Linked DNA regions of Homo sapiens: all the other regions are linked to region 5. The links are contacts of gene promoters, found by promoter capture Hi-C in blood cells and fetal thymus (Javierre and others, 2016). All regions are on one chromosome and are shown on one strand. The core of a region is centred on a gene start or on the middle of the fragment in contact, and the rest is flanking DNA. Distances in the headings are between cores, read along the strand shown. Region 1 overlaps LOC124901993. Region 2 overlaps SPAG1 (sperm associated antigen 1). Region 3 has its middle 33 kb from the start of LINC02844. Region 4 holds the start of FBXO43 (F-box protein 43). Region 5 holds the start of PABPC1 (poly(A) binding protein cytoplasmic 1). Region 6 overlaps LOC107984005 (a long non-coding RNA gene). Region 7 holds the start of COX6C (cytochrome c oxidase subunit 6C).

Region 1 (3,331 bases), core at 359-2,858, 590 kb after region 5:
GCAGGATGCACTGAAATGGCTTCTTATTTTTACTAGGCTGTGATGTTCTCGAGGGCAGGGTCTGGACTTTATCACCGTCTCCACCCCATCCATGGAAGCAGTGTGGTGTGATAGTTAAAGGCCAGCTTTGCCTATAAAGAGCCAGATAGTAAATATTTTAGGCTTTGTGGGCCATATGGTCTCTCTGTCCTTATAGCACAAAGACAGCCATAGATAATATGAACAGGTATAGCTATATTCCAGTAAAGTTGTGTTTATAAAAACAGGTAGTGCAATGGAGTTGGTCCATGGGCCATACTTTGCAGACTGCTGCTTAAAAGTGCCGCTCTGGAACCGAACTACCTGGGTTTAAATCCCAGCTCTGTTGCTTTGTGACTTAGAGTTACTCAATCTCTCCATAATTCAGTTTCTTCATTTGTACATTGGGGGTGAAATGAAGTAAAGTATATAAAGCACTTGGGACTTCACCTGGTAGATAGATAATAATAAGCTCTGAATGTGTGTGTGTGTGTACACGTGTATGTGATTATAAATATTTTATATGTATATATATGAGATACATATTTTTCTTTTCTTTTTTTTTTTTTTTTTTGAGACACAGTCTCACTCTGTCGTCCAGTGCAGTGGCATGATCTCGGCTCACTGCAACCTCCGCCTCCTGGGTTCAAGCAATTCTCTTGCCTCAGCCTCCCGAGTAGCTGGGACTACAGGCGTATGCCACCATGCCCTGCTAATTTTTGTATTTTTAGTAGAGATGGGGTTTCACCATGTTGTCCAGGCTGGTCTCGAACCCCTGACCTCAGGTGATCCACCCACCTCGACTTCCCAAAGTGCTGGGATTACAAGCATGAGCCACCAAGCCTGGCCTATATACTTCACATATATATATATACACACACACATGAAATAAGCTAAGTTAACTTATTGAGCAACTATCTCTCTGTCAGGCATTCCAGTAATAATCGTTTACTGGACAAAGCCTAATTGTTACTGGAATTTCTAATGGACAGTAGTGCTCACTAAATATTGCCTAAGTGGTGAACAGATAAATGCACTCTTCTCATTTACATTTTACTCATCCTTCAAGTTCAAGGTTGAGTTCTCTTCCTTTAGGCGTCCTCCTTGGCAGCCCAGGCTCAGCCCATCTCTTCCTCTCTCCCTTCATGGCAGTTCACTGGGCATCACACTTGGCAGCCTTTGGTTCTCCAGAGCACTTTCCACCATCCCGCTTGTCACCACCTTCTTTCCGTGTTGATGTTGTTCACGGACTGTCTCCCTCAGTAGAATGTGAGCTCCTTACCATGGTTTGTCCAGTACCTAGGACAGTGCCTGTCAGGTGCTCAGTAATTGTTTATTGATTAATGAATGAATGAATGAACGAATGAATGAATCCTTTCTATTATTGCAACCTGTTGTTTTCATCATTTAACCTTTCTCTGTGTATGCTTTATCTCCCAAACTACAGACTAAGTTTTTTTAAAGTTACCTCTCTGATCAGCATTTCAGGATTACTATGAAGATCAAATTAAATTACATGTGGCAGTGTCTAGCTTGGAGTTTGGTGTATATTGATGTCAATTGCATATTCCTAATTCATACTTTCTTCTCTCCGTTTCATAAATATTTGTTTTCCAGGTATCACAGAAAGAATTGAAAGGCAAGGTTGTCAGACAGATATGGCAGCTAAGACACCAACTGAGGAATGTTATCAATGTAGCTCCGTGAAATTGCCATATTTTACATCCTGCAGTTCTGCAGTCAAGTGGTGGTATTTTTGTCACAGCCCACATCAAAGCCCAGATGGCATGAGGGAGGGATGGAAATGGGGCTCCATAACCCTCAGGAACTCTGAAGATTTCATCTCCTAAGTGGTATTGTCCATCTGTTTCTGCAACTTCCTTAGCAACTTGACAAGTAAATCCTTAAATAGTAACTGCCAGCAGTATTGCAGTTCTTTGTCTTTCTGACTAGGTATGAAAGCCAAGAAGGCAGCCCTTTGTAAATGGTGTCACTGTTTGAGATGTTTGCGGGCTGCTTGCTCTTCTAGATCCACATGGCCTTTCAGTTTGTCTCCACGGGAGGTCTATGCTTGGTCATGATCAGCTGACACTCATAAATCCTGTGTCTGGACATCTGTCACTCCTGCCAGTCCAGCATCCCTTTCTTGAAGTAGCAGCTACCTGATTTTCCTTGGGACCCCTCTGAGTCTCAGATTCAGAAGGCTAGGGTGGGCTCGGCACAGTAGCTCACGCTTGTAATCCTAGCACTTTGGGGAGGCCAAGGCTGGCAGATCACCAGGTCAGGAGTTCAAAACCAGCCTGGCCAACATGGTGAAACCCTGTCTCACCTAAAAGTACAAAAAAAATTAGCCGGGTGTGGTGATGGGCACCTGTAATCCCAGCTACTCAGAAGGCTGAGGCAGGAGAATTGCTTGAACCCAGGAGGTGGAGGTTGCAGTGAGCCAAGATCGTGCCATTGCACCCCAGCCTGGGCAACAGAGTGAGACTCTGTCTCAAAAAAAAAAAAAAAAAAAGAAGGCTAGGGTGAAGAAGGTGCCCTTTGGATAATTATTTATTTAGGGAACTATCCTGAGAAGTATGTCTCCTTTTAAAAGAAATATGTGAAAATAATGTTTGTTCTCACAACTTCGATCTCCTGGATAGTTCTGTCTCTGAAGAGATTTTTTTATTGTTGTTGTTTTTCTTAAAAACAGAGAAACATTTTGTTAGACATTGTAGTTTGATTGAAAGTCGGCTGGCCAGGCCTGCAGAGATGATGAGTATGTTCAGACATCGAATAGATTTCTTGTCTTAGATGATGTTTTTCAAATCAGAGCTTTGTGGTTTTACTTTATGATTTTTTTCAGATGACTCTGGTTACGGTCACCACCAGAGTGCTCAGTGCTGTTTACTATTCAACTCCGCAGGAGCCAGAATCCAGACGCTGGGAAATGTGAATGTTCCAATATGGCTGACCATCATGGAATGGGATCAACAGATGGAAATAGGAGGCTTCATCTTCTTCATCTTGGTCCTGAGGCTCCATCAGCCAGGTTTCCAGCACACATTAAACCCAGGTATAACAACGACATGGCCCAGATTTTTCAATCTTCATTTCAAAAGTGTCCCTTTGTCTCCCTCTATATCTGGTTGGTCAGCTGTCTTGATTTTTGCGTTGGGATCCAAAGTTACTACAAAACTAGCGCAATTGGTTTAATATCTTCATTAACTGAATTCTTGGGTCCTCTGCCCATCTCCTTTCTCCTTCATAAGTTCCTCTTGTTCTTCCTGCCTCTGGAATATGGGTCTTGGCTTTCAGCCATTCCCATGGC
Region 2 (3,303 bases), core at 28-2,527, 530 kb before region 5:
GTTGAGGTATGAAATCTCTTAGTTCTTGGAAAAGCTGGCGGGGCCTGGGGCTGCCAGAGGGCCAGAGGGTTGTTATAGAGGGGACAGCTGGCTGATGTAGCCTCTTTTATGTACCTCAGTGTCATCTCCTATGTGTGTATCAACATGAAAAAGGGTGTAGTTGAGCTTTGGGTAATTACATCCTAAAGTATTCTGTGCTGCTCATATCTTCCACTTGCCAAATATGTTGTAACCATAATGCCACATATTAAAAAACATAACTTTTATATTGGTAAATTTTCAGCTCTTCTGCGTCGTGCTACTACATATAAACATCAAAACAAGCTCCGGGAAGCTACAGAAGATTTGAGTAAAGTACTAGATGTTGAGCCTGATAATGATTTGGCCAAGGTAAGTATAGAATGTGATTTCTCACCTAATTCTGTAGTTGGCTGTTTCTGTATTTATTTTAAAGTGGTATCAATCTTGCCAAACAAATTATGTTGAAGATCAGGTCACAGCTTTAAAAGGTAGGTATATTCCAGACACCCCAAAACGTTAACATCTATTTCAAGTGGAAGAAAGCAGAATCTTAAAATTTTTTTTCAAAACTATAAACCTTCCTCTGAAAGACAAATATCAATTTTTCTTTTTCCTATAGTGTTGTAGGCAATGTTTTTCTCTGAGCCATGTGGAGTGGTATAGAAGGTACCTTCCTAGGTAGGATTAGGGGTGAACTCTGTGGCCATTGAAGAGTGTTTCTCTTTGTAATGAGCATGGTAGCATTTGCTACCTGACTGAGCAGACTGACTCAGTTATACACTTAGGGGATCTGTATTCACGCCTAAAGAGTAGAGGTAAGTGTCAAGAACTGAGATTTTCCCCTGCTTACAAATGAACAAGGTGGCCTACCAGAGGATACAAGATATCCTGAGTCAAACACGAAAAGACTTTGTCACTCCAAGCAGATGAGCTTCACGTTCATGTCAGTTCCCCTTGCTCCCAAGTCCCACAGGGGTGACATAGAGTGGCCCAGATGGATGTTGCACACTCAATGGATTTATGTGATGGCTGACAAATCAAAAATTTAGGAAACCAGCTGAGTGCAGTGGCTCACGTCTGTAATCCCAGCTCTTTGGGAGGCTGAGGCAGGCAAATCACCTGAGGTCAGGAGTTCAAGACCAGCCTGGCCAACACTGCACTCCAACTGGGGCAACAGAGTGAGACTCCATCTCAAACAAACAAAAATTTAGGAAACCTGCTTCTTTTATGATGGGATATAAGCAAACCTGCCCAATCTCTGCTCCATAGGGAAGCATCACCTTTATTACACTGGAGAGCCAACACACCTGCCCTCTCCGCTGCAGATGAATACTATTTCTGTTTGCCAAGGTTGTTCTCAGTACAAACATCCTTAGAGATGTCCAGAAAGAAGGTGGTTTAGTGCCTCTGCTGGCAGTATAGTCAGAAATAAGAGAAACCCATGGAAAAATTGTTACTAAGTTTCCACATACACCTATTGGGTTACCTATCCCACTGTCTCTGAGTGGCAGCTAATGTTCCTAGAATATCAGCTGCTTTGTCAAGTCAACATTTTAGGTTTAGGTTTAGGGCCTGGCTTAGTATTTCCTTTTTGTAATGGTTATGTTTATTTATTTTTGAGACAGGGCCTTGCTCTGATGCCTCAACTGTAGTGTGGTGGGAACATGGCTCACTGCAGCCTCCACCTCCTAGGCTCAAGCAATCCTGCCATCTCAGCCTCCTGTGTAGCTGAGACCACAGGTGCACGCCACCTCCCAAAGTGCTAGGATTACAGGCATGAGCCATTGTGCCTGGTTTCAAATGCATTTTTATCTTAACCATATGCAAAGATTAACTCAAAATGGATCATATACTTTTTGATGTAAGATATAAAATATAAAAGTTCTAGAAGAAAACATAGGAGAAAATCTTTATGACCTTAGACAAATATTTCTTATGTAAGACATGAAAAGTACAATCCATAAAAGAAAAAGTTGATATATTGGACTTCATCAAAATTTAAAACATATACTTTTCAAAGACACTATTAGAAGAATAAAAGACAAGCCACAGCTGGGCACGGTGGCTCACACCTGTAATCCAAGCACTTCAGGAGGCTGAGGCAGGCAGATCACTTGATCCCAGGAGTTTAAGACCAGCCTGGGCAAGACAGCTGAACTTCATCTCCACAAAAAATTTAAAAAGTTAGCCAGACATGGTGGTGTGGGCCTGTAGTCCTAGCTACTCGGGAGGCAGGGGTGGGAGGATAATTTGAGCCCGGGAGGTCAAGGCTGCAGTGAGCTGTGATTGCACCACTGTACTCCAGCCGGGGCAGCAGAGGGAAACCCTGTCTCAGAAACAACAACACCAACAACAACAAAACAAAACAAACAAAAAAGCCACAGACCACAGACTGGGAGAAAATATTTGAAAATCGTATATCCAACAAAGGATGATATATCTATTTTTCATCAGAGTCAGCATAAAATATTTCAGAATTTTCAGCATTACTCTAAAACAGTAATGTGGGCTGGGTGTGGTAGCTCACGCCTGTAATCCCAGAACTTCAGGAGGCTGAGGTGAGAGGATTGCTTGATCCCACCGTTTGAGACTAGACTGGGCAACATAGTGAGACCTCATCTCTATATTTTAAATAAACAAACAGCGTATGTAGCATGATTTCATTTGTGTAAAACTGTACATCTCTGTGGGTATATATGCATAGAAACATCTAGAAAGATGATTATCAAAATGTTAATAGTAGTATCTGAATGGCAAGATTTTAGGTGATTTTTTCTTTATTTTTTATACTTGTTACACCGCTTTTTGTGTGTGTGTGTTTTTTTTTTACAGTGGACATCTATGATTACAATCAAAGGCCACCAAAAAAAAGCCTTGTCTTAGTTGTATTCATTTTTCAACATCTTTATGTTTTTAACCTGAAAGAATGGTTATATTTATTATTAGAGGAAAATATTTTCTTTAATATGGTAATTATGTTGCAGAAAACCTTGTCAGAGGTTGAAAGAGATCTGAAAAATTCTGAAGCTGCATCTGAGACTCAAACCAAAGGGAAAAGGATGGTTATTCAGGAAATAGAAAACTCCGAAGATGAAGAAGGAAAAAGCGGAAGAAAACATGAAGATGGCGGTGGAGATAAGAGTAAAATATTTTTTCTATTTAGGTTATGTAAAAAGCTGCCTTTTAATATGATGAGCTGGCTCAATTTTTCTATTCGTACAGAAATTCGTAATCTATCAGTTTTTCTAGCTTTGCCTTGTAAATTCACAAGCCAGTTTCGCT
Region 3 (3,385 bases), core at 610-3,109, 570 kb after region 5:
GCATTTTCTTCTTTGGTCTTCTTGATATCTATCTTATAGCTACATGCAGCACCTGTGGGCTGATAAATAATGTAGTCAAAGAATTCTGCAAATCCAGAAAGGTCACTGTTTATACATCATCTGTCTGTCAAGTAAAATTCTTGGTTCAAAGCAAAAAAGCAAGTTTATTTTGGGAATTGGTAACTTGGAATAACAGCTGCAAAAAGAAATGAGAAATAAAGACCCATCACTTAATTCTTTTTCTAAATATTCATCTGAAGCCAAATTTCATCAAATTTGATTGGTTTTAAGGAGAAAAATCTTGCCAGATGGAAACATGAAGATTGGAAAAGCAACAGAACTTGGATTTCAGAACTGTGGGGGATTTATAGAAGCATTTGTTAACAACTGAGGATATGCACAGCCTGGGTGGGTGTCAGCTCAACTGTGTGACCTGGTGTCCCCAGCCCAGCCATCCTTGTCTGCACAGCTGAGGAGGTTAATGATGATGGAGAGACTTAGGGGTACTCCCCGCACTCTCTCCTGAGATCCCAGAGCAATCCTGATTGTGGCCGTAAATATTTATGTAGAACCATCGCTTCTCGCCTCCAAGCTGGGAATGACTTCGCATTGAACTTCAGCCCTGCCTGCCCCAGATTGACCGTGGCTTCCTGAATCTTACATTGCAGCAGCTCCTTCCTGCCCACTTTCTCCCTGTGCTATCAGGGTGACCTGCAGCAAATGTTCTCACACAGAATCCTCAAACAACCTCCAGCACAAGGCAGGTGATACCCTCGTTCTCCCATGGGGAAACTCCAGCCTAGAGGTCAGGGGACTTGACAAAAGCACACATGAATGGTAGAGCCAAGCCTGCCTGTCTGCAAATTCCTACTTTTGGTCTCTCTGCTGCCCTTTCAGCCCTGCCCCCAGGCTTCAGTTTGGGAGGCCCCTCATCTGCACCTCACCCCCAGTGCCTCTGTCCTCACCTGTGCAGTGCTGGTTTGCAGGTTAACACCTGCAGGCTCCTCTGGGGCACATTACTCTTGCTTGCTGTGTTCTGTGGCCACCACACTACCTTGGTTCTGGGGCTTGGCCGTTTTGAGGGTAGAATCTCTGAATGTCAGGGAATTCAGTCTTGAAAAATTTCCGCTTTGCTGGTAAAAGGAACGCCTCCATTCTTTTCTCAGCTCAAGCAAACGTAGATCACTGTCAGGGAACACAGTATCAGCAATTTCCCCTTCTCTTCAGAGCATGGGACTGGACTGGAGATCCCATCTTTGGCTTCAATATTAATATCCAGGGAGTTACCACTTCCTTTCTAAACAAGGGATGCTGCCTTTGGAGGATGGTGCCCTGATCTTGGAAGAGCCAGGTTACCCACGTTTACAGGGACTCTGTCAAATGAAAAGGTGAAGACCTCAGGCACAGAAAAGCTCCTGCTCCAGGCTACACTGATCTTTCCTAACCTCCTCAAACACAGCAGTCCTGGAGGGAAGCTAAGCAAAGACAGGCCTGCCTCATAGTTTTTTTCAAACCCATTCGTTTGATTTGGTTTTGATTAGAGTAGGCTAGTCAACAATGAGCAAAGCCTTTCACAAAAGCCAAAAACATACGGAAATTCCAAATTGGTGTTTAAAATTCAAAATTTGGCCCAAGAATCTTACTCTACAAGAAAGAAATCTGCATTTGTATATTCTTTCTCAGTTACTCGAGAACAGACTTCCGTATATTCTAATCAAAGGCCTTGGGTCCCAGAGGCTGTGTTGGTCTGGTTCCTGACAGCCCTTGAATTCCAGCTTCTAATCTTTTGCAGATCTCACTATGTGCAGACTAAACTAGAGATGTCTTCAAAGGCAGCTCTCTAGACTTGTATGTGCTGGCTGTTTTCTGGGCTCAAGTTCATGCCATGATTGTCTGACCCATCTTCCCTGGAGAGGCAGATTTCTTCCATTCCAGTCTTTAATCATTATCTGTGTTAGGCTTGACCAACCTTTCTGAAGGACAATTGATTTTAAATAGTAGTCACAGGCTTAAGTATAGTCTACAAAGCAGATTTTTATTACACTGTAGTGAAAGGGCACACATAAAAGTGCATGTGAATCACAGAAGGCAGGCGAGAGAAGGGGGTCAGCTCAGGACAGGAAGAGAATAAATTTGTCCACAAATTACATAATCCACAAATTACATAATACATTAGCAAGTAACACATTCGATCCCAAACTCTCAGGGAGAAAAAAGTAATTCGTTTTCATGTTCCCTTGTTTTATTTTTTCTTCTTAAATATTGAAAATGAGTTGTGATGAAAAGTCAAATGGCTTTAAACCCATGATCAATATCCATACTTGGAGACAATATTAAAACAAGCGATTTTAAAACCAGACAATATTAAAACAAGACAATGTTAAAACAAGAATGACTATTCTCCATTTCATTTCTCCTGTGATACTGTGACTGTAACTGCCATTGCTAACTAAAACATTTGGGTTGGCTTTCTCACATTTTAAAGCTCTTCTTATTTCTTTTGTCACCCCAACAACTCTGTGACTCCCATTTCAATGATCCCTGCTCCAGAGATGAGTAAACTCATTAGTTTATCACTATGCAGAGAGAGGGGTCTGAAATCAGCACTATGTGATGTGGATACTGACTGGGATTTGCAGATCGATGCCCCCTACATTTCTATCCTCAGATCCTGTAGAAAATAACTAGCTCACAATGCACATGGCAGTCATCAAATTCTGTTGTGGATGCCTGTTGCTACATAACAAACTACCCCCAAATTTAGAGGACTAACACTACAATCACTTTCTTCTGTCTCAGTTTTATAGATCAGGAATTTAGGGAGGACTTGGCTGCAGCCTGTGATATAGATAGGGAACATTCAGTGGCTATCAGCTGGCAGCTGGTCTGTCTGGAGGGTCAGGCCACACACACACCTGGTGCCTTGGTAGGGACAGCTGGAAGGCAATGCTCAGCTGAGCCCTTCTTCTTCTCCCAGGAGAGCCTCTCCATGTTGTCTCTCCAGCAAAGCAGTTGAGCTTCTTTCATGGAGGGCTCCCAGAGCCCGTGCTCTGAGCAACAGGAAATGAAAGTTTCCTGACTCTTAAAGCCTGGACCTGATCGAAACACTCACAGAACCTGCCTAGATTTAAGGTGAATGGCAAATTTATATAATGTCTGCACAGCTTCATATAAACAGGGAAGGTCCAAAACTGATACCATTTGATGATGACTACATAGCTATTTGTGAATGGAGGCTCACAGTTTTGAGAAAGTTCCATATTCAAGGGAGAAAAGAGCAGCAATGTTATCTCATCTGAGGCCCCAAATTCCTACTTTCCATTGAATGACTAGCCCTGGATTTCCCAGAGCACAGTGTATGCGACTGTCAACTGTCCACACCCAG
Region 4 (3,217 bases), core at 636-3,135, 580 kb before region 5:
CGGCTAATTTGTGTATTTTTAGTAGAGACGGGCTTTCGCCATGTTGGCCAGGCTGGTCTCGAACTCCTGACCTCAGGTGATCCACCCAACCTTGGCCTCCCAAAGTGCTGGGATTACAGGCAATAGCCAACGCGCCCGGCAGGTCACGGTCCTTTTAAAAGGTTATGGCAATTGTACTGCTACTTCACCACTAGGTGTCTCACAATGCTAGAATTTGGGAAACTCAGAGGCAAATTGTTAAAAACAAAGTGGGGAATGCAGATATTATCTCTTTCCTCTAAAATGTTATCCAAAAATCTATTCTGGCCGGTGGCTCACGCCTGTAATCCCAGCACTTTAGGAGGCCGCGGCGGGAGAAATGCTTGAGTCCAGGAGTTTAAGACCAGCCTGGGTAACATAGTGAGACCCCATCTCTTAAAAAAAAAATTGTTTCTGTTCATCTACACACTTGAAGTTGCCTCCAACGTCCTTTCTCTGCTAGCATTTTCATCTTTCTACTACCCCAAGACGTTGGTCTCAAACGTGGTTCTTCGCAACTGAATTTTAAAATTATTCATGTAAAATCATGGACTGTCTGTTGTATTTTATGGACTCAACAGTTCACGGATAAATCAATCAAGCCTCTTCGATATTCATTTTTAAAAACTAGGCTTCTGATAAAAGGCTGAGAAAACTTATTCCTAAAGTGTTCTTTAAGAAAAAAAAAAAAAAAAGCAGCGGCCGGGCGCGGTGGCTCACGCCCGTAATCCCAGCACTTTGGGAGGCCGGGGCGGGCGGATCACGAGGTCAGGAGAGCGAGACCAACCTGGCTAACACGGTGAAACCCCGTCTCCACTAAAAATACAAAAAAATTATCCGGGCGTGGTGGCGGGCGCCTGTAGTCCCAGCTACTCGGGAGGCTGAGGCAGGAGAATGGCGTGAACCCGGGAGGTGGAGCTTGCAGTGAGCCGAGATCGCGCCACTGCACTCCAGCCTGGGCGACAGAGCGACTCCGTCTCAAAAAAAAAAAAAGAAAGAAAAAAGAAAAAGAAAAAAAAGAAAAAGCACCTACCACATCAGAGAATGAAGTACTTACATTAAACCCAAATGTTCTTCATTTGTTAAAGTGGAAACTCTTACCATCAGTAAATCTTGAGCTCTTAGATGTCAAAGTTACGTAGGCTTCCAAACAAGAAATTCTCTCATCTTTGTCTTTAAAACTCATGCCAAAATAATGCCACTTAAAGAGGAAAACTTTAGTTTGCACAATTAATTGAAAGGTGCAGCAGCATCATGATTGCTCAAAGTCGAAGGGTACACAGGGTGCATGCCGCAGGGATTATTCCTAACACTTGAGAAGGTCTAAATCATTTTGAATTTCCTTCAGCCCTCCAGAAAATAGTTATCTTAATATCCTTGTTTTCTCCAGCTGGACTTAGACATGAGTAAACTTCCCAAATTCGGGTTCCTGAAAAGGCAGCGTGTGCTGCAGCCTGGCACTGACTCCCCCGAGGAGCTATGGCGGGCGGGTGGGTAACGGTCTCACCAGGGCGTCAAAGATCCGCTAGGCCCAGAAAGCCAAGGGCAGCAGGGGATGGGCTGGCGTCACCAGGAGCGGAGGAGTGAGGGCTGCCGCGCGCCTCCCTAGGCCCAGCACCTGGAAGACACAGGGCGACGCGGGGCCGGGCCGCCGGGAGACCCGCTAACGGGCACTCGCCTGGGGTCCCGCCGCCTGCCTGGAGGCCGCGGGGCCGGGCGAGGCGCCGAAGCGGACAGGTGGGAGAGGAGCCGGGCAGCAGCCGCTGGATGGGCCGGGGAGAAGCCTCGGCCTCGCCCCCTGGGATGCGGGCTATGGCAACCCCCACGCCAGCTTCGCGTGGGGCCGCTGCCTTTACCTCCTTAGGTTTGAACGGCCCGCCCGGGGTAACCGCTAAGCGCAGCCCCGCCCCGCGCCGCGCTGTCCCGCCCCTTCCTCCGGCTCTGCAGCGCTCCCGCCCGGCCGCCCGCAGGCCTGGGTCCTCGCTTGAGCGGGAGGAGCGCCCCCTCTCTCGCTCACCCCTGCACCCGTCCCGAGGCGGGTCAGAAAGGCTCTGCTTCTCCCCATTCCCACTTTGGGAAGCATTACCGTATTTAGGAATGCTAACGTGGCCTACAGTGGGATGCCATTAGAAATCATGTATGAGAATGTTCCCTTGGAAATGATTCTCCAAACTGTCAAGTGCAAAAAGCAAGTTACAAACTGACCCCTTTTAGGTTAAAAATATGGATATACACAGGATGAGGTCTGAAAGGTATGAATAACTTGGATACGGTAAATTTGTACAGGATTATGTTTGCTTTTTAGTTCTTTTTATCTGTGTTTTCTTCTCATGTTTCAACAATGAATATATACAGATTTTGTGATAAAAAAGCTGAGCCGGGCCTGGTGGCTCACATCTGTAATCCCAGCACAGAGGTGGGAGGATCACTTGAGCCAAGGAATTTGAGACCAGCCTGGGCAACATAGTGAGACCCCCATCTCAAAAAAAAGATTTTTAAAAAATCTATTCATAAAAACCAGAGTGAAATGTGTTCATTGTTTACAAACATCCATTTTTGGGCATCATGAACTCCCAAGTACCCTCAAAGCCAAATAAATTTTTTAAACCCTAATTTTTTCATTCAATAAATATTTACTGGGCGTCTATTATATGCCAGGGACACTCCTGCTGCTCTTGGCAGCTTCTTCCTAGTCTCCTTTTTCTGGCTTCTTTTCCTTGGCCTACTCCCTAAATGAGAGGTCCTACCTCAGCATTTTTATTAGTTTATCATCCCATGCTTATGTAATTCTTATTCAGAACTTCAACCATCACTTTTAAGCCAATAACAGGCACTACCACCACTCTTCTCTGACTGGACATTTCTCCAACTGGATGTCCCTCAGTCATCCAAAACCAAACTCACTAAAATTATTATGAGACAGGGTCTCGCTCTGTCACGCACGCTGGAGTGCCGTGGTGCAATCTTGGCTCACTGCAACCTCCACCTCCCAGGTTCAAACGATTCTCCTGCCTCAGCCTCCCGAGTAGCTGGGATGACAGGCACCCGCCACCACGCCTAGCTAATTTTTGTATTTTCAGTAGAGACGGAGTTTTGCCAGGTTGGCCAGGCTGGTCTCGAACTCCTGACCTCAGGTGATCCACCTGCCTCAGCCTCCCAAAGTGCTGAGATTACAGGCATGAGCCACTGTGCCCGTCCA
Region 5 (2,923 bases), core at 368-2,867:
CAGTTGGAATTACACTAAAGTAACATTTTATAGCCAAAGTTGACTATTTTATAAAGAAAAGCCCCTCAAAACGACAGGAACTATTTCAGAAGGTAACATAATATACTCGAAAACCACCAGTACTGTGAATCTAAGATAAAATTTGACTAAAAATGGTCTAAGTTGCCTGAGAAAACTGGCCTTCAAAGTGGTCGGCTGCCACATCCCCTCCTCCCACTCTGCCCTTTTAATGTTAGAGAAATGCTTGATCTAGGGGAAACCCCAAATGCATGTCTCCGGTAAATTCCATTCCTAGATCCATCAGTCACTGATGAGTTCTGGGAAGTGGACTCACAAGCCTGAGGACCACCACCACACCACACATCGCCACAGGAACTTTATCCTAAGGCCTGGTGGCTCCCCCAGGCGACTGGGCCAGGAGCAGGAGCAGAAGCAGGCCTCGGGCCTGCGAGGTTACAGGGTTCAACACGTGGTATTTTTCGAGCACAGAACTGCACTTCCTCCCCAGGCTGGGGCGCCGGCAGGAGCTCCGGGTGGTGGGAGCGCCTCCACCTCTTACCCACGGAAGGAGCTCAGCGTTCAACGCCCCAGAATCCCGGGGCCACTGGCGGGAGCGCCGCGGAGGAACCGAATCTCACCCACCCTCCCGGCGCGTCATCACCCTAAAGTTTGAGAGCGTCTGAGGCCGAGAAAATGGTCGCAAAGGAGGAAGTAGCCGGGCGTGTGGCTGCCGGCAGCGCGGGTCCCCGCCGGCTCGGGAAACGCGGCTCCAGGGACCCCGGCGCCTTCCCGCCGGCCGTCGCGGGGTGACATGCCCTCCCGCCCCCCTCCCCGGGCCCGCCGGCCTACCCCGCCCGCCGCCGCCGCCCGAGCCTCATGGCCGCCCGCCCGCCCGGCCGACCGCGGAGCCCGGCGCTCACCGTCCGCCGGCTGCTGGAAGTTCACATACGCGTAGCCCAAGGAGCGGCGGGTGATCATGTCCCTGCAGACCCGGATGGAGAGGATGGGCCCGGCCGGGCTGAACTTCTCGTAGAGCATCGCCTCGGTCACGTCGGGGTGGAGGTCCCCCACGTAGAGCGAGGCCATGGGGTAGCTGGGGGCACTGGGGTTCATCTCGGCACGGCTGCCCGCAGGGCCACAGGCCGCGACCTTTCCGTGAGAGGAGGAGAGCGAGTGCCGGGGCTGGGGGCCGGAGCCGGGGGGAGGGGAGCGGGGAGCAAGCGCAGAGGGACAAAAATCAACCGGAATTGAAAACTACTCAACGGCCGCAGAACGGGGTCGATCCACTGCCGCTGGCTGCCGGCTGCCGGCGGGGAGCGAGGGTGGCGGTGTCGGGTCCGGGCAGCGGGAAGGCCTCGGTCTCTTGGTTCCTTCTTGGAGCTGCTGCGGGGCCGCGGGCGGGCGGGTCGGTCTCGGCTGCTTCACCGGGTTATTTTATAAAAGAGGAAGAAAAAAAATAAAAGTCTCCGGCGGGGGAGACGCGGATTTTTTGTAAATTTTTTTGGGGTTTTTTAAAAGATTTTTTTAGATTTTTTTTGGATTTTTTAATAATAAATGTGTGTTCCGAGCCCGGAGCACACACTCCGCACTCTCAGCACTAACCGCCGGGGAGAAGGGGAAGCACCGCCTCCTGCACCCTCTACTTATACCCCGCGCCGCACTCGCCCCGCCCCCGCGCGTCTGACGCCAGGGCCCCTACGCGAGCGTCAGCGCCGGAGTAGGAGGAGACGCGGAGGCCAGGGGGAGGAGGGAAGAGAAAACAGGAGGAAAGAGCAGAGAGGAAGGGAGAGGTGGCGGCGGTGGAGGCTGCGGTGTGGGGGTGGGGCTCGGGCGAAGGGGCGGGGCTTTTGCGCAGGCGCCGCGGCCGGGGAAGCGGAGCCCGCGCTGCGTCGCGTCCGTGGGGGTGGGGAGGACGGCTCGCGGGCGGTCCTCGGGGGTGTTGGCTGAGGCGTCCCCGCCTTCCGCCCCGCCCGCCCCTGCCTCCACCAGGAGGAGCGTTAACCCGTCACCGCGGCGGTGGGCGGTGCAAAGGGCTTCCGGGTTCCTCCGCGCTAACCACCCCCCACGTGCGCGGCCGCCTGTGGCCTCTTCCCGCTGCGGCCGGCCCGGCTCCTCTAGCCCCAGCTCCGGGGGACGCCGGGCACGGGTGAGCGGGCGTGGTCCCCTCCGGGCCCGGTTTCCGAAACGTGCGTAGATGGAGCCAGCGTGGCCCCCTGCTCTCTCCTACCCGGACCGCACTACGAGTCCCAGCCGGCACCGCCGCCACGCGCGTCGGCCGCAGAAGCGGTGCCTGCTGGGAGCTGGAGTCCCCAACGGCCGCGGCGCTCGCTGACACCAACTGGCTGCGCGGGTCCTGGCCGCCCGCTCCGGGACCCCCCAACCGTCCTGCGCGCTGGACCCCGGCACCGCTGGAGCTCCCGGCGCGGGGTTGGGGGGCAGGGAGAGAGAGGGGAGGGCCCCTCGGGTTCCTCGTCCTCTTCTTTTCCAGCCCGACCCTCCTCCGTGTCTTCACTGGACGTTGTCGTTGGTCAAAGTGGCTTTAATTTGGGATAGCTGTGTTGGGGGTCTTTGGTCACTTCTTACCTTAAGGTGCTAGGCTGGAATCATTGATTTGTGCTGCTTCTGCCAGACATTTCTTGGCGATAGAAACCAGGAGTGGAGAAAAGTGAATGTTTTTCCTGAAAGTACGGGTTTGTCACAATCACTACTATATGGCACCACAGCCCTGCAACCAGACAAAATTAGGAATAGTCTAAAACAACGTCCTTATAAATAACTAAAACAATTCTGCACATTAGTAGTGGGTTTTAATAGGAATGCTAAATTTAACGAATTGATAGTAATAAAAACCGGCTCTAGGAATGACATTAAATCAACATACAAATTCCACTCGAAAGTAGTAAAGTGCTTTTACAGTTTTTAA
Region 6 (3,228 bases), core at 151-2,650, 520 kb after region 5:
CTTCTCCCTCCCTTGAATATCAGCTTGCCTTGTGCCTCAAGAGGCCTTGCAGCTGCCACTGTGTTTCAGAACCCTCTCATGAGAATGCAAGCCTGGACTAGCCTGCTGGAGGAAGAGAAATCATGAGAGGGGAGCCTCATTGTCCCAATTGAGTCTAATCTTAGATCAGCCTTGTCTGGGGGAGGGGGAGGAGTCCTCTGGCCACCCACATGTTTGATGACTCACTAGAAGGACTCCCAGGACTCAGAGTCAGTTGTGCTCATGGTTATAGGTGATCAAAGGATACAAGACAGCATCAACAAGGGAAAAAGTCACATCAGTCTGGAGGAGTTTAAGTGCAGGCTTCCAAAGCTTTGTGTCTGGTGCAGGAGGTGGATTACACAGAACACACTTTTTCTTCCAGCAATAAAATTAAGTAACACATACACAATATTTCTGACTAGGGAAGCTGACTGGAGGCTCAGAGTCCTGGGATTTTATTGCAGAAATAGGCAGAGGATGCCTATGTGATCAGCCACAATTACTGAAATTCCAGTCCAGTGTAAATCACAGTGTTTGGATAAACATTCTAGGCAAGCTGGTGTGGTAGGATTCAGTGCCGTGGGCATGCCAAACAGCCTTATCAGTTAGGTGGTAGATAGAAGGATAGAATAAAGGCCCTTTGAAGGTGGTTAAGTTTCTATACCCAGAACCTGTTCATATGTTACCTTACATGACAAAAGGGACATTGCACATATGATTACATTAAGGATCTTGAAATGGTAAGATTTTCCTGAATTATTCAGGATTAAAGTCAGCAAGGGCAAGATAAAGGAAGTAGAGCGCAGAGATCCGCTGAAGGAGGGAGAGATTTGAAAATGCTTTGGTGCTGGTTTTGAAGATAGAGGAAGTGGTCATGTCTTAGTCCTTTTGTGTTGCCATAAGGGAATAGCTGAGGCTGCGTAATTTGCAAAGAAAAGGGGTTTATTTGGCTCACAGTTCTGCCAGCTGTACAAGAAGCATGGCACCAACATCTGCTTTTGACGAAGGCCTCAAACTGCTTCCACTCATGTCAAAAGGCAAAAGGGATCCTCTGTGTGCAAAGACTGTGTGGCAAGAGAGTAAGCAAGAGAGGAAGGGAGGTGCCAGGCTCTTTTCAATAACCAGCTCTTTTAGGAACGAATAGTGTGAGAACTCACTCATTACTCCAAATCCTACACCAAGCCTTTCATGAGGGATCTGATCCTATGACCCAAACACTTCCCAGTAGGCCCCACCTCCAACATCGGGGATCAAATTCAACATGAGGTTTGGTCCAACATCCAAACCATAGTGTGTCATGGGCCAGGGAATGCAGATGGTCTTTAGAAGTTTGAAAAGGAAGAAAATGAATTATTCTCCAGAGCCTCCAGAAGGAATGCAGTCCTTCTGATCCATTTTAGACTTCTAATCTCCAGAGCCCTAATATATAAAATATTTGTGTTGTTTTAAGCTACTAAGTTTATAGTAATTTGTTATATCAGCAATAGAAAACTAATATAAATAGTAACATAGGAAGCATTCCAAAAGCAAAGGTCCTAGAAACCAGCCAAGGGTCAGCTCTATAAGCAGGTCCTTTGGAGGAGCAACATCATCAGAACTACAATATTTAACTCTTTCCTATAAAAGCCTACAGCCAGACAATCACCAAAAATGTGAGAGGGACCAGCCAAGATCAGCAGAACAGCCTGCCTGACTGCAGAAATATGAGTGAGCCCAGTCAGGACCAAAATAACTTCAATACTGTGGGAAATAATATATCATTGTGGGCAATAATAAATGCTTTTTGTTTTAAGCCACTGAGTTTTATTGCAGTTTGTTATACAGCAATATCTAACTAATACATGGAATTCAAGGCTTTTGAGTAAACATGTAAGAGCCCAATCCATATATCATATCTTATCTCTTCTTCACAAACTTTGCTTTATTTATACTGATCTATTTAATGTCATCCAAACAATCTGTGTTCCTTCCTATCACTGTCCTTTTCTCCATGTCATCCTTGTATCTCAAGGCCTTTTCCATCCACATCTCTGCCTACTATTTCAGAATGTAATTGACAAGCATTTAGCATGCAATTTTTGTGAGCATCCAAGTTTTCAAGTCTAGTCAACTGATGCCATTTGGAATTTGGTTAGGATCATGAAGTGTGTTACTAGAATTAAACAGGCTTGTAAGTCATTGCCATCTGTAAGCTCTCAAAAGAACAAATACTTCAGAAAATACTTTCTGCACAGATGAGAAACTAGAGTTTGTGAGAGAGCTGCCAAAGTAATTTTTTATATTAGTGAGAAGGAGGCTTATTGATTATTTGAGTGCTTATAGAACTCTTATTTGTTCAGTCCCAGAGCTAAGCTGTCTGGTATACTCATTGGCACTTTGATTGTTTCTGTATTTATAAATGCTAAGAGCTTATCTGGCCCAGTGTTAGGAAGCTTGTTGTATATTTCATTGCTGTCTAAGAGTTAAAGCTAGCTGCAAAGTCTTGAAACCAGCCAGTGTTCTTAGGCAAGAACCACAAGTTGTGCTGACAATCACTAAATGGCGGGGTGGCAAATGGTCTTACTGGGTTGTAAAAATGAAATGCAACAACCTGTATTCATGGAGTGCTTACTATGTACTAAGCCTTGGGCCCAGCCATGGGCATACAGAAGTAAACAACACAGAAATAAATAACCTTTTGGAATTTATAATACAGTGTAAAAATAATAAAGTCTGGAGTAAATAATTTCTGTAAGTCAGCAATGAGATACAATGAGATACACAAGCATTTAAAGACGAAAAAAAATCTGACAATCATGATGTCATCCCAAGAATATCCCAGAATTCTTTGTGTAATGTAATGTATTCATTCCTAATTTTTGTGCCAATATTTATAATAATCTCATAGTCAACAGATATTTGTTGAGTGCTAACTATATCCTAAGCACTTTGACACCAAGGGAAACATGAAAAAATTTAACATATTCCCTGCCCTTGTGACTTTGTACATTCCAGCTAAACATTAATAGCAACAAGAACAAAATATCTGGGCTGCAAAAGTGTGGTTCTTATTGCATTAAATCAATTTAATTTGTATGCCTGGGTAAATCATCAAACACACTCCTAAAAATTATGTTTTTGTTTTCTGGCCAGATTCTTTGATATAGAGATGTGTAGATTAAATGGACAGTCAGGGATAAATATGAATAAACTGCAGGAATGAAAGAG
Region 7 (3,376 bases), core at 650-3,149, 830 kb before region 5:
TTAGAAAGAAACACATTACAAGGGGGAGTTTCTTTAAAAGATTTTTCAACCAAAAACACATACTTTATGACCTTCGGCACAAAGTAAAAAACATACATACCTTATACAAAGCTGCAACCCCCAGGGATAGCACGAATGCTACAGCCATATGATTTCGCAGACGCCTGGCCAGAAGGCCACGCATCCGAGGTTTTGGCAAAACTTCGGGAGCCATGGTAGTTACTGTCCTTGATACGTATGCTAACCTTAAGAGATTCAGAAAATATGATTAAGTACAGAGTTTATTTAAGCCACAAACTTGAGAATGGCCACCTGGAAGCATTGATTGGAGCTGCCCTGAATATACACTCCGATTAGCAGCAGTTACAAATGAATGTTTTTCTTTTTTGGCAGAAACAGGGTCTAGCTATGCTCCCCAGGCTGGTCTTAAACTCCTGCCCTCAAGTGATCATCCTACCTCGTCCTCCCAAAGTGCTGGGATTCCGGCCTACAAGTGAGTTAAGAAAAAATGAGAGGCAATTCCTAAACTGTTTATCAAAAATTTACATTAAAATAACATAAGCTATTGACTGACTAAACGCTGTCCTTTATATCACAAATTCAGGAATAAGATTTGGGTTGAGACATGGGTGAGGGGCGGCACTGAAGTCCAATACTCAGGTCTCTGCGTCCTGCATACCTCATGTAGCTCTCACTACTCTGAGCTTTTTTTCCCTTTCTCGGGTAAAATAATAAAAGAAAAACTCAGAAAAGATATCAAAAGGAATTCTCATGCATAGTACATTTTACTACCTAGAGAGGCACAGCACGACAGTGGATGGATTCCTCCCACAAAGCCTAAGCTGTCTCTTGGCTTAGCCTGTTTCATCTTCCCCCCGCCCCCCATATACTGAGCGACCACCCTAAATAAACGCGACAAACTGCGGCACACTAGTAATGGACGAGCAAAGGCAACAAAAATCTTTCCAACAACAAGAAAAATAAGCAGTAGCTCCGCATTGGTAATTAACGATTGCAAACCCATTTATGCAACACTTTCTCTTCTAAAAATTTTCTGTCCACTCGTTAAACCTTCGCGACAACCCTGTCAGATCATGAGGCAGGTGTTTTCCACGGTCACACGGTATACCATTAAAACCTGGACGGGAACGCGGCAAATACCATGAGGGCCCAAATTCCCTAACTGCTCCTTTGCCCAGCCTCACCTAAAGACCTAAGGGGCCTAAAAACTTTTGCGTCCCTGCTGGCCTTCAGCTAACGCGGCCGGGGGTAGGATGGGAAGCCGTGGGGCAAGGGAGGTTGCAGGAAGCCCATCCTTCCCCTCCTGCGGCAGGTACGGTGACCCTCCTCCAGTTTTCCAGCTCTAATTTAAAACGCTGCCACACAGCGAGCGACGCTGCCAGCTGCTTCGCCTACACTAACCCTTGCGCCTCACGACCAGCTGCATTAGAAACCACCACCCCTTTTCTCACGGGAGAAACACCGGGGCCAGATAGGTCAAATGACCTCACCAAGGTCACAATGGCTGTGAAAAAGCGCAGCGGGTACCAGCCCCGGGCCAGCTCACTCCGAAGCCAGCTGGGTTCTCGAGGGTCCCGCAGCCCACCCGGCTTCGGTGGGGCCGTCGCAACCCACCCCGGTCCGTGGTCCGCCCGCCGCCCTCCCTCAGGCCGCAGCGGAAGCGTGAGAGAGTAGATGCGGGAGAGGCCTGAAGCTGCACCACGGCGGAGACACACAGTCACGACTAAATCCGAGGCAGAGAGAAAGCGGGAGGGTGCCGTTGTGACAACCCGCAGTGTCGGGGTAGGGATGCAAAAGGGACCGGACTCACCTCAACACCAACGTCCTTCCTGACTAAAGGAAAAACGAACCGTGCTGTAGCCGCGCGCAGGCGCAGAATAAGAGTGCACAGCGAGAACGCGGCGACGGTAGCCGAAGGAGTTCAAAAGACCTCTAGTGCGCCCACCGCAGGTGACAGCCGAAGTTCATTTCGTGGTCTGCTTCTTTCCTGTGTGACCTTGCAAAACGGGCTTGACCTCCTTATTTATCGACCTCTTTATCTTCTTAGTAAATTGAAGATATTAGTCGTACTCATACACAGAGTCCCAAACCATGTGCACAAACCGACATTTTAATTATAACCAACCTTACGCGAATAACCGTTTGGCTTGGGTAAAAGTGAAAAAGCTGACTTCTAGGAGCTCACAGCCCAGAAGATGAAAAAGACAAACAGATTAATACCGATCCCATGCAGTGGGCACTACCACAGAGACGTGGCCCAGCTACTGCAGAAGCAATTCTCTACCTGGCAAAGCTGAGGACGTTTTGATAGAGGGGCGGTATTTTTGTGGGTTTCTTAAGAAAACAAGGATTTTGAAGGAAGGCAACTGGAAGTTCGTGGAAAGTGGTGTAGAAGGGTGAGGCTCTTGTGCCTTAATGATGCCAGGCTGTTTGTATTGAAATAACCTGAATTTTAAAAGCATTATTTAAGTCAACCCATCAAGCCCTGTGGAAGGTAGCTGGGACACAACAGATGCATGATATTGAGTCGATATATACACTGAGTACCTACTATGTGCCAGATTCTGCTAAACAAGAGGACAGATCTTCGGGGAGTCTCATTCTGATCAGGGAGTCTTTGTCCTCAACCTATTAACCAACACTCTGGAGGGTGAAACCTGGCCACAAAGAAAGGTGCTCAATTGAGGTTCAAAAGTAGGTTTGGACTTTACCAACGTTTTTCAGGCCTCTTATCAAGGGTCTACCCAGCTGAAAATCTTTGCATGGAATTTGTCCAGAGAGTAATTTGTTTCTATTCTCTTTCCATCCCCACCCCCAGAGAAGAAGTGGTGAACTTAAGAGTTCACAGGGATTAGTGTATGTGAAACCATCAGGGAAAGCTTCAGACAATACGTGGAAGAGATGGAAGCAGAGCTGAGTTTCAGTCTAATGGAAAGCCTGGAAAACTGGAGAAATTGGAGAGAAAACATTGGCTGGGAGAACATGGCAAAGACAGGCACACTCAGGGCACAGAGCCTGACCTGAGTGAAATACTGAGTGTTTGTTCTGTGCTTCCCTAGCTATCCAGTGAACCATAGTGAATGACTGAGGGTGACACGTGAATAAAACCTGAGCGATAGATGAAGAGAGACATGTTACATATAGGTTCTGTTCTAGAGCCGAACAGACCTGGATTTGAGTCCCAGCTCATCAACTTGTAGCGGCAAATTTCTTCATCTTTCTAAGTCTGCTTTCTCCTCTAAAAATAGTACCCATTTTGTTGGGTTGTGATGTAAATTAAATGGGATAATGTATATGCAGCTTGAGTATCCCTTATCTGAAATATTTGAGACCAGAAGTGTTTCAGATTTTGGAT

What was found. The method cuts DNA at HindIII sites, captures the fragments that hold promoters and counts their contacts. A CHiCAGO score of 5 or more calls a contact.
Region 1: a fragment that was not itself captured here is called in contact with the fragment with the promoter of PABPC1 in region 5 in 2 of 17 cell types (total B cells and naive B cells); the score reaches 5.7 in total B cells.
Region 2: a contact is called between a fragment that was not itself captured here and the fragment with the promoter of PABPC1 in region 5, in 1 of 17 cell types (neutrophils). The highest score is 6.9, in neutrophils.
Region 3: a contact is called between a fragment that was not itself captured here and the fragment with the promoter of PABPC1 in region 5, in 13 of 17 cell types (total B cells, naive B cells, fetal thymus and 10 more). The highest score is 13.7, in total B cells.
Region 4: a contact is called between the fragment with the promoter of FBXO43 here and the fragment with the promoter of PABPC1 in region 5, in 8 of 17 cell types (neutrophils, naive CD4 T cells, non-activated CD4 T cells and 5 more). The highest score is 12.5, in neutrophils.
Region 6: a fragment that was not itself captured here is called in contact with the fragment with the promoter of PABPC1 in region 5 in 2 of 17 cell types (total B cells and M0 macrophages); the score reaches 6.7 in total B cells.
Region 7: the fragment with the promoter of COX6C here is called in contact with the fragment with the promoter of PABPC1 in region 5 in 2 of 17 cell types (fetal thymus and naive CD4 T cells); the score reaches 5.4 in fetal thymus.

What each region holds. Positions count from the first base shown.
Region 1 is chr8:101,312,441-101,315,771 of GRCh38, forward strand. It overlaps LOC124901993, which reads left to right. Exons shown (of 6, transcript XM_047422526.1): 2 at 1,636-1,871; 3 at 2,927-3,076. The coding sequence starts at 2,967. Among named protein-coding and RNA genes, the nearest start is that of LINC02844, 51 kb to the left of the region's middle. The HindIII fragment of the contact is 6,164 bases long and covers 1-3,331 here.
Region 2 is chr8:100,191,107-100,194,409 of GRCh38, forward strand. It overlaps SPAG1 (sperm associated antigen 1), which reads left to right. Exons shown (of 19, transcript NM_003114.5): 9 at 284-390; 10 at 3,006-3,162. Among named protein-coding and RNA genes, the nearest start is that of SPAG1, 34 kb to the left of the region's middle. The HindIII fragment of the contact is 9,407 bases long and covers 1-3,303 here.
Region 3 is chr8:101,294,051-101,297,435 of GRCh38, forward strand. No RefSeq gene overlaps it. Among named protein-coding and RNA genes, the nearest start is that of LINC02844, 33 kb to the left of the region's middle. The HindIII fragment of the contact is 5,723 bases long and covers 1-3,385 here.
Region 4 is chr8:100,143,932-100,147,148 of GRCh38, forward strand. FBXO43 (F-box protein 43) reads right to left here and starts at 1,886. Exons shown (of 5, transcript NM_001029860.4): 1 at 1,120-1,886. The coding sequence starts at 1,204. RefSeq lists an enhancer at 349-498 and a silencer at 1,610-2,069. The HindIII fragment of the contact is 15,929 bases long and covers 1-3,217 here.
Region 5 is chr8:100,720,471-100,723,393 of GRCh38, forward strand. PABPC1 (poly(A) binding protein cytoplasmic 1) reads right to left here and starts at 1,618. Exons shown (of 15, transcript NM_002568.4): 1 at 921-1,618. The coding sequence starts at 1,113. RefSeq lists silencers at 795-904, 1,585-1,664, 1,745-2,454 and enhancers at 857-1,689, 1,744-2,244, 2,245-2,745. The HindIII fragment of the contact is 6,173 bases long and covers 1-2,923 here.
Region 6 is chr8:101,245,432-101,248,659 of GRCh38, forward strand. All of the region lies in intron 1 of LOC107984005 (a long non-coding RNA gene), which reads left to right. Among named protein-coding and RNA genes, the nearest start is that of LINC02844, 16 kb to the right of the region's middle. The HindIII fragment of the contact is 2,102 bases long and covers 350-2,451 here.
Region 7 is chr8:99,891,808-99,895,183 of GRCh38, forward strand. It overlaps COX6C (cytochrome c oxidase subunit 6C), which reads right to left and starts at 1,900. Exons shown (of 4, transcript NM_004374.4): 1 at 1,832-1,900; 2 at 101-245. The coding sequence starts at 214. RefSeq lists enhancers at 742-1,390, 1,391-2,038 and a silencer at 1,512-1,681. The HindIII fragment of the contact is 2,962 bases long and covers 1-2,898 here.